Regions from separate parts of the Homo sapiens genome. Here all the other regions are linked to region 3. Evidence: promoter capture Hi-C in 16 types of primary human blood cells and fetal thymus (Javierre and others, 2016). All regions are on one chromosome and are shown on one strand. The core of a region is centred on a gene start or on the middle of the fragment in contact, and the rest is flanking DNA. Distances in the headings are between cores, read along the strand shown. Region 1 overlaps EWSR1 (EWS RNA binding protein 1). Region 2 holds the start of THOC5 (THO complex subunit 5). Region 3 holds the start of PRR14L (proline rich 14 like).

Region 1 (2,700 bases), core at 98-2,597, 2.5 Mb after region 3:
AGCTTCCATATTTAAAATAAATCCTGAATCAAGACTGCCCATTTTAGTTAAGATTTAGGGCCTTAAAGTGTCCTCATGTACTGGCCAGAAACAAGTATCAGCTTCCTTTTGTACAATCACCATTTGTAGCACAGAATATAATAATACTCTTTCTTCTCTACCTCAAATATTAAAAGGAAATTCTGAAATTATACACAGAGATAGTAATGTCCTTGTCAAAACTGCTGAGTTAAAATGTGTATGAAAGTATACATAGTTCCAGAAAACAGGAAGCCCCAAGCAATAAAAGTTTTTGAGTTGGCATGTTGTTCATCTGAACTGCTTAAGTTTTTGCAGAGTCCTAAGGTCAACCACATAAGGCATTCATTTATTTAAATTAGAATCTAATACCATCTACCCTACCGTTCATATACCGATTACACCCCACTACATGACACGTCTATAAGATTTACAAGGAGGGCAATTAAAAAAACAAAAAACTAAAAGTGATCAGGGCAATAACTCATGTCATAAAACTATGCAGCAACAGTTAGGGCCTTGTCATGCTAAAGATTACAGCAATAGACACTGGGTTAATAAATAACCTTTTAATTAATCTGTAGTACCCACAAAAGCAGCCAAGCAAAATGAACAAAAATCAACAGAGCAAAATGATTTAATGACCAAAAAAAAAACAAAAAAACAAAAAAACAAAAGACCAGTGGCAAAAAAAGAAAACACACCTACTATGTGCTGACAACTTGAAGGAAAAAGGTGGTAAGAAATATTACACAAACCAAAACTTTTGTTCAACGTAAAAATTAAGAAGTTTTTAAGAATTCCATTGAATTGAGGTTTATATAACCCCTTTCTTCTGAAGTTTAATTTTTAAAAATCCTAGAAGAGAACAGTGTATTTCTATGTATTCCCTCCAATGACTATCCGATAACTTTCATGTGTAAAGGCAGTATGAGGTAAGGAAAAATGCAGCATGTGTGCTTGAACCCACGCACTACCAATTAGGCTCCTGCTAAGTTTTGTTCACACAGTTTGCTCATCAGGCTTAATTTTGGTGTTTTTATACCCCAAAAGTTCTTGGGAGGATTAAGGGAGACAAGAAGGCCACTCTATAAACTGTGAATTTTATACAAACATTATTATTACTAAGTGCAATCTCCAGCTCATCAAAGCTACTAGTCTCTAAACTAGAATGACCTGTACTTTTTAGGCCCACAGTCATGATGGGGATTTCTCAACCAACGACAATGTGATACATGGCTCTAGAGAACCATTAATTTGCCTATAAATCACTCCGTCTCATTCCTGTAAAATGATCTAAGGATTCGGAAGGCTAGATCTAGGCCACATTAACTTTCACATCATGCTTGTTTTAAAAAATGTAATGGCTTTAATACATGAAGTTTATCTCACAATTTCAAAATTCTATGCTAAAAAATCCAAACTGCATAACCTTAGTTCCAGCTCTTCCCACAGCTGCAATTAACACCACTAGAAAGTTTAGATAAACATTTCCCATCCTATTTGAGAAACACCCTAGAAGAGGTTAGGAATTACTTCCCATCAAAATCAGGACACTGGTACTCAATGAGATAAATTACAGACAGGTTTTTCCCCTTAACTGGACTATATATAATTTGGAGAACTAAAGACAGTTTGAAAATAAGAGCTCTGATATCTTTAAGACTTTATTAGAGTCTTTTATAACAGCAATAATAAAAGGGCAGGGGGAGACAGCCTGAAACATTACACAGCACTGAACACAAAAAAATTATCATAGGTTTTTCATGTATCCCACCCAACCTCAGTATCGGAATACAATTTCTTCTAATTCTTAGAATAGTTTATTTTTTAGTATCTTGGAATAATGTTATATATATTCAAGACATACCATGGATTAAAATAATTCATAACACTTAAAACAGAAAATAAAATGTGTCTGGACTAGAAACCAACCAATAGACAAACATGATACATGCAGGGTGGCAGTCTGCTCCTCTAAATAAATCTCATCATGCAATCTATCCTTCAGGGAACAGGGGAAAATCAGCTGGGGAGAAATCACCTGAAATACCTTTGGGAAGGTAAATAACTATTATTAAGGCTTGAAACAAAGTAATATTAAATAAAAAAACCTTTCCCAAAATCATATAAAGAATAGGACATGGATCTGCAAATGGCACCTGAAGCAGTTTTTCATTAGCACCTTGCTGTGTGTGATGTTAGAAAGTTTGGGGGTTCAACAAATGAAAACACCTAAAGGATTAACATTACAGGGTTAGACAAGATGGAAAGCATTTCCCATGCAAGAATGAGCAGGATAGTCAAACCTGTACTGGTCCCTTCTACTGTGGAAAGCACAAAACAAAAAGTAGAGGGTACACTATCAGATGAAGCAAACATGTGAAAACCAGTTTGATTTTTAAGCAGCTCAATTTAAGAAGACTCATTCTTACTCAGTATTAGCATTAGCAAAATCTTTTACATAGTCTCCATTTCATCGTGAGATTATTCAAACAGTTAAAAGTTCTTTTCTCTCTTGGAATTTATCCCACCCACATTCTATTGGAGATCTCTCAAGACTATAAGAGTAGGGAAGAAAGAGAAAAAATACCTCTTCCTAAGAATAAAGGATTCCCCAGATGCCAAGGTATGGACCAGAATATACATCCGAAAGCATGACTAATAAGCTTCTTAGCCAAT
Region 2 (2,700 bases), core at 96-2,595, 2.2 Mb after region 3:
AGATCTACCCTCCTGGAGGGTACTGTGTTCTTGAGCTATTCTCAACAGTCAGTACTGGTTGGGTGCAGTGGCTCACGCCTGTAATCCCAGCATTTTGGAAGTCCGAGGTGGGCAGATCACTTGAGTGAGGTCAGGAGTTCAAGACCAGCCTGGGCAACATGGTGAAACCCTGTCTCTACTAAAAATACAAAAATTAGCTGGGCATGGTGGTGCATGCCTGTAATCCCAGCTACTTAGGAGGCTGAGGCAGGAGAATCCTTTAAACCCTGGAGTCGGAGTTTGCAGTGAGCGGGGATTGCGCCACTGCACTTCAGCCTGGGTGAGAGAGCAAAACTCTGTCTCAAATAAAAATAAAAATAAAAAAGAGCCAGTATTTTCCTCCTTGCTCCTGGGAAGGAGAAGGAACTGGCCCCGTACAACCAGGGATTCAGGACACGTGTTACTAGCTCCAGATGAGGATTTACACGAAAAAATCCTGGGCCTTGTTTGTACAGTTCATGCCAGGGGTAGGAAATACCTGAAGCTTTCAAATACTGCGTTAGAGTTGTGACTCTGTCCTGGGCAAGTCAGGCCTAAAATGGAGAAACTGGTGATGCACTCCTCAAAAAGCCAAGTGTAAAATGAGGTTAATGCCCTCCCTGACTTGTTGCCTTCACTGGCGTGGCATATTATGGTAAAAATAATAATTAAGAAGTAAGGTTATGCAGGCAAATCCTCTAGCGCCGAAATCTTCCCCGCCGCGCTACCAGGTTCTTTCGTGTTATCTTGGACATAACACAACATTAATTCAACTACTCGGTGGAGCGCCCACTAGCTGCTGGACACTCTCTTAGGCCCTGGGCACAGTGAACGAGAAGCATGTGTCTTTGTTTTTACAGTCTCACCACGCCACCACCTCCCTCGGGGGCCTCCGCGCTGAGCTTCCGGCCTCTACGCCTCGCTTCCGGTCGGCCGCCCCTTCCTTACTTCCGGTTCTCTATGGTGCGCGGGCAAGCTTTGCTCCGCCTCCGGCAGTGGCTTACTCCCGGTGCCAGGTTCTTGGAGCTGTGAGGTGAGGAGGGGACAAGGGCAGTGGGGCTGGGAGATGGGGCGGGGCTGGGCGCTCCGGGACTGAGGTGCTGATCGCCCAAAGGGCGCCCCTGGGCTGGGGTCTGACCCGGCTTCTCCTCCCTCACTACCCGCGGTCCCCGGCCTCTCGGCGCTGCGCTGTTACCTCATCCGAAAAGTGTTCGCTGCAGCATCCTCAGGCTTCACGTTGGAGCCTCTTGATTGTGGTAATGTAGCCTGATGGGGGTGGGGGTGGTGGTGATGGTAACAGCTCACATATATCGTGCTCTTCGGTGTGCCAGGCACTCTACTGTGTTGCCAAAGTCAGGATTTCCCACACTTAAGCCTTTCAGGTCCGGTCTTTGTAGGCTTTGCCAGATCAACTTACCACCTCTACTACCGTTTATTAAAAATTTGTTTGTTTGTTTGTTTTAGTATTTATTGATAATTCTTGGGTGTTTCTCGCAGAGGGGATTTGGCAGGGTCATAGGACAATAGTGGAGGGAAGGTCAGCAGATAAACAAGTGAACAAAGGTCTCTGGTTTTCCTAGGCAGAGGACCCTGCAGCCTTCCGCAGTGTTTGTGTCCCTGGGTACTTGAGATTAGGGAGTGGTGATGACTCTTAAGGAGCATGCTGCCTTCAAGCTTCTGTTTAACAAAGCACATCTTGCCCCGCCCTTAATCCATTTAACCCTGAGTGGACACAGCACATGTTTCAGAGAGCACGGGGTTGGGGGTAAGGCTATAGACCAACAGCATCCCAAGGCAGAAGAATTTCTCTCAGTACAGAACAAAATGGAGTCTCCCTTGTCCACCTCTCTCCACACAGACACAGCAACAATCCGATTTCTCTATCTTTTCCCCACATTTCCCCCCTCTCTACTAGACAAAACCGCCATCGTCATCATGGCCCGTTCTCAATGAGCTGTTGGGTACACCTCCCAGACGGGGTGGCGGCCAGGCAGAGGGGCTCCTCACCTCCCAGAAGGGGCGGCCGGGCAGAGGCGCCCCCCACCTCCCGGACGGGGTGGCGGCCAGGCGGAGGCGCCCCCCTACCCCCGACCCGACGGGGCGGCTGGCCGGGCTGGGGCTGGCCCCCACCTCCCCCCCGGACGGGGCGGCTGGCCGGGCGGGGGCTGCCCCCCACCTCCCGGACGGGGCGGCTGCTGGGTGGAGGGGCTCCTCACCTCTCAGACGGGGCAGCCGGGCAGAGACGCTCCTCACCTCCCAGACGGGGTCGCAGCCGGGCAGAGGTGCTCCTCACATCCCAGACGGGGCGGCGGGGCAGAGGTGCTCCCCACATCTGAGATGATGGGCGGCCGGGCAGAGACACTCCTCACTTCCTAGACGGGATGGGGTCCGGGAAGAGGTGCTCCTCACTTCCCAGACTGGGCAGCCGGGCAGAGGGGCTCCTCACATCCCAGATGATGGGCAGCCGGGCAGAGACGCTCCTCACTTCCCAGACGGGGTGGCGGCCGGGCAGAGGCTGCAATCTTGGCACTTTGGGAGGCCAAGGCAGGCGGCTGGGAGGTGGAGGTTGTAGCGAGCCGAGATCACGCCACTGCACTCCAGCCTGGGCACCATTGAGCACTGAGTGAACGAGACTCCGTCTGCAATCCTGGCACCTCGGGAGGCCGAGGCTGGCCGATCACT
Region 3 (2,700 bases), core at 114-2,613:
AAATTAGCTGGGCATGGTAGCATGCGCCTGTAATCCCAGCTACTCAGGAGGCTGAGGCTGGAGAATCTCTTGAACCTGGGAGGCAGAGGTTGCAGTGAGCCGAGATCCTACCACTGCACTCCAGCCTGGTGTCAGAACGTGGCCCCGTCTCAAAAAAAAAAAAAAGAAAGAAAGAAACGAAACTTTGAAGCATTCAATTTTTTTTTTTTTTTTTTTTTTTGAGACAGTGTCTTGTTTTGTTGCCCAGGCTGGAGTGCAGTGGGGGCACCATCATAGCTCAATGCAGCTTCAAACTCCTGGGCTCAAACGATCCTCCTGCTTCAGGCTCCCCAGTAGCTAGGAGCACAGGTGCATCAACACCTGAGCAATTTTTGTTTTGTTTTGAGAAAGAGTCTTGCTGTGTCATCCAGGCTGGAGTGCAGTGGCACTATCACTGCTCACTGCAGCCTCAACCTTCCAGCCTCAAGTGATCTTCCTGCCTCAGCCTCCAGAGTAGCTGGGATTACAGGCACACATCACCAGACCCAGCTGTTTGTTTTTTGGCAGAAACGATGTCTCACTATGTTGCCCAGGCTGGTCTCAAACTTCTGGGCTGAAGTGCTTCTCCCGCTTTCGCCTCCCAAAGTGCTGGATTACAGGCGTGAGACACCGCGCCTGGTCGATTTCTATTTTTTAACACAAAGCCGTATTATTTGGGGCAAGTCGATTTCATTATCTGGACCTCAATTCTTCCACTGGATAAACATTTCTTCCTTCCTTCAAATGTCCATTGAGCGTCTAGTTTTGTGCCGGACACTGCTCTTGGTGCTGAGCATTAAGTGATGAACAAAACAGACAAGGTGGAGGAAGATAAATGATAAACAAGTCAATAAAGAGATGAGACATAGAAATTTCAGCTAGTGTTAAAGCTATGAAGAAAATAAAACAAGGTTCTGTAACCAACTGGAGGCAGAGGTGCCATTTATTTAGTGGTCAGTGTGATTAGAAGAAGCAGAGGAGTGTCATGACCCAAAACACTCTTTCCAGTAGAATAAGATCTCTCGGGCTGCCAGAGTGGAAGCAGGCAGGCCCTTAGAATTGTAGCCGTCCAGACTAGAAAAACGGTGGACTGGAACAGGGTGACAGCAGCGAAGGCCGGCACTGGGTCCTGTGGCTCAGCAGGAGCAGAACCAAAAGTTGTGTTTCCCTTTAAGAGTTTGAGCCGCAGGGGCGGGGTTGAGGGAGGCTGGGGCTAGCAGAGGGCGGGAGGTCAGAATCAGGAAGAGCCTTCCCTTGGAGTGCGCGCGCGCGGTGCGGGGGCGGGATTTGGGCGAGTCCGCATGGCTGGCTCGGGCCCCGGATGAGGAAGTGCAGGGGGACCATAGAGACGAAGAGGTGGCGGCGGCCGGAGCGCCCCCGGCCTCTGTCGGCTCCGTAGGCTCAGGTAGACCTGGCGACGACGGGGCTGCAGCTGCAGGGGCTGAGCTGGCTGGGCAAGCGCGGGCCGCGGAGGAGGTCTCAGGGTAAGAGGCCGGGACTGGAAGGCTTCGGGCGTAGCCGCCCCGCCCCACTCCGCCCTAAAGGGACCCTCCGCCGGGTGGTGCTGCTAAAGGGGAGTCCAGGCCCCCCGCCCTCTCGGGGCGCGGAAAGGAACCAAGGCTGCCCTGTGGGCGGCGGAACGACCCAGGGAGAGGGAGGAGACCAGGCCCCGCGTCGCTAGAGAAAAGCGGCTTCTCCGAGTCATGGCTCCGACGCGGGAGAGAGACTCCTCTTCAACCTCGATACAACAGGGATCCCCCAACTTATCTCCTCGGAGAGGACGACGCCCCTTATCGGAGGCGTACGCTCTTTCTTAGCGCTCATCCGTTGGTCAGCAGAGGGAGACCCACTCCCAGGGTTCGAGGGGGATTCTGAACTTATCCTGAGGAGGAGTAAAAGATAACCCCTAAATGAGACCTTTCCCCCAACTTTGGTCAGCGTCACCCAGGTGAAGAGTGAGACCCAACTTGCCTGAAAGTGACAGAGGGGATCTTTCTTCCCAGTAAGAAAGAGACTTACCTTCCTCCTTTATTTTTCGCCTGTACCCCAAGATACGGAGAGGAAGACCTTGAAATTTTACTTTATGGTATCAGAAATCAACCTTTCTCCCTCTCCCCTCGTGATGTCCACAGAGAGACCCTCGCTTCTCTTCTTCCCTTTAAGCCTCTTGGTGTGCAGTGAGCTCCTTTCCCTTGCATTATTAAGAGCATGGCTTTTGGAGTGTAATCGTTGCAAACCTGGGTCTCTCACTTAACGTCTTTGTGACCTTGACTATTTGTTTAACTTGTCTGAATCTCAGTCCATCTCCAATTTGGGTTCTGTTTTCTTAGAATTGTCATGCGGGCTAAGGGAGCATTTGTGTAAATACTAGTTATATAGTAAGCTTTTGGTAAGCTGTTGCTATTACTATTACTTAATCTGTTAAAAAAGAAAACTAATATCTTGCACAGAGAAGCATATTTTTCCATGCATGCCCCTCGCAGCCTCCATCACAAGTGTTCAACCATCCTTTCTCACTGGAGTGGAAGACTCCCTCCCACTTAGGGGTTAGAGAAAGAGACACTTCCAGTCCCCTTAGATCCTGCTGTTCAATACTTTCCCAAATTAACAAAGAGGGCCTCACTGAAAATAATCAGTAAAAAAAAGACTTAGCTTTTGGAAACAGGTCTGTGCTCTTAAGAG

What was found. Contacts are between HindIII fragments. The CHiCAGO score rates a contact against its expected background, and 5 or more counts as called.
Region 1: a contact is called between a fragment that was not itself captured here and the fragment with the promoter of PRR14L in region 3, in 1 of 17 cell types (non-activated CD4 T cells). The highest score is 6.5, in non-activated CD4 T cells.
Region 2: a fragment that was not itself captured here is called in contact with the fragment with the promoter of PRR14L in region 3 in 2 of 17 cell types (non-activated CD4 T cells and naive CD4 T cells); the score reaches 6.8 in non-activated CD4 T cells.

The regions. Positions count from the first base shown.
Region 1 is chr22:29,273,910-29,276,609 of GRCh38, reverse strand. The region is part of intron 4 of EWSR1 (EWS RNA binding protein 1); the gene reads right to left. Among named protein-coding and RNA genes, the nearest start is that of EWSR1, 7.0 kb to the right of the region's middle. The HindIII fragment of the contact is 2,685 bases long and covers 5-2,689 here.
Region 2 is chr22:29,552,022-29,554,721 of GRCh38, reverse strand. THOC5 (THO complex subunit 5) reads left to right here and starts at 965. Exons shown (of 20, transcript NM_003678.5): 1 at 965-1,051. RefSeq lists enhancers at 595-664, 48-745, 2,143-2,700 and a silencer at 1,065-1,254. The HindIII fragment of the contact is 698 bases long and covers 997-1,694 here.
Region 3 is chr22:31,748,795-31,751,494 of GRCh38, reverse strand. PRR14L (proline rich 14 like) reads left to right here and starts at 1,363. Exons shown (of 9, transcript NM_173566.3): 1 at 1,363-1,502. RefSeq lists enhancers at 1,138-1,432, 922-1,481, 1,721-2,353. The HindIII fragment of the contact is 5,796 bases long and covers 1-2,403 here.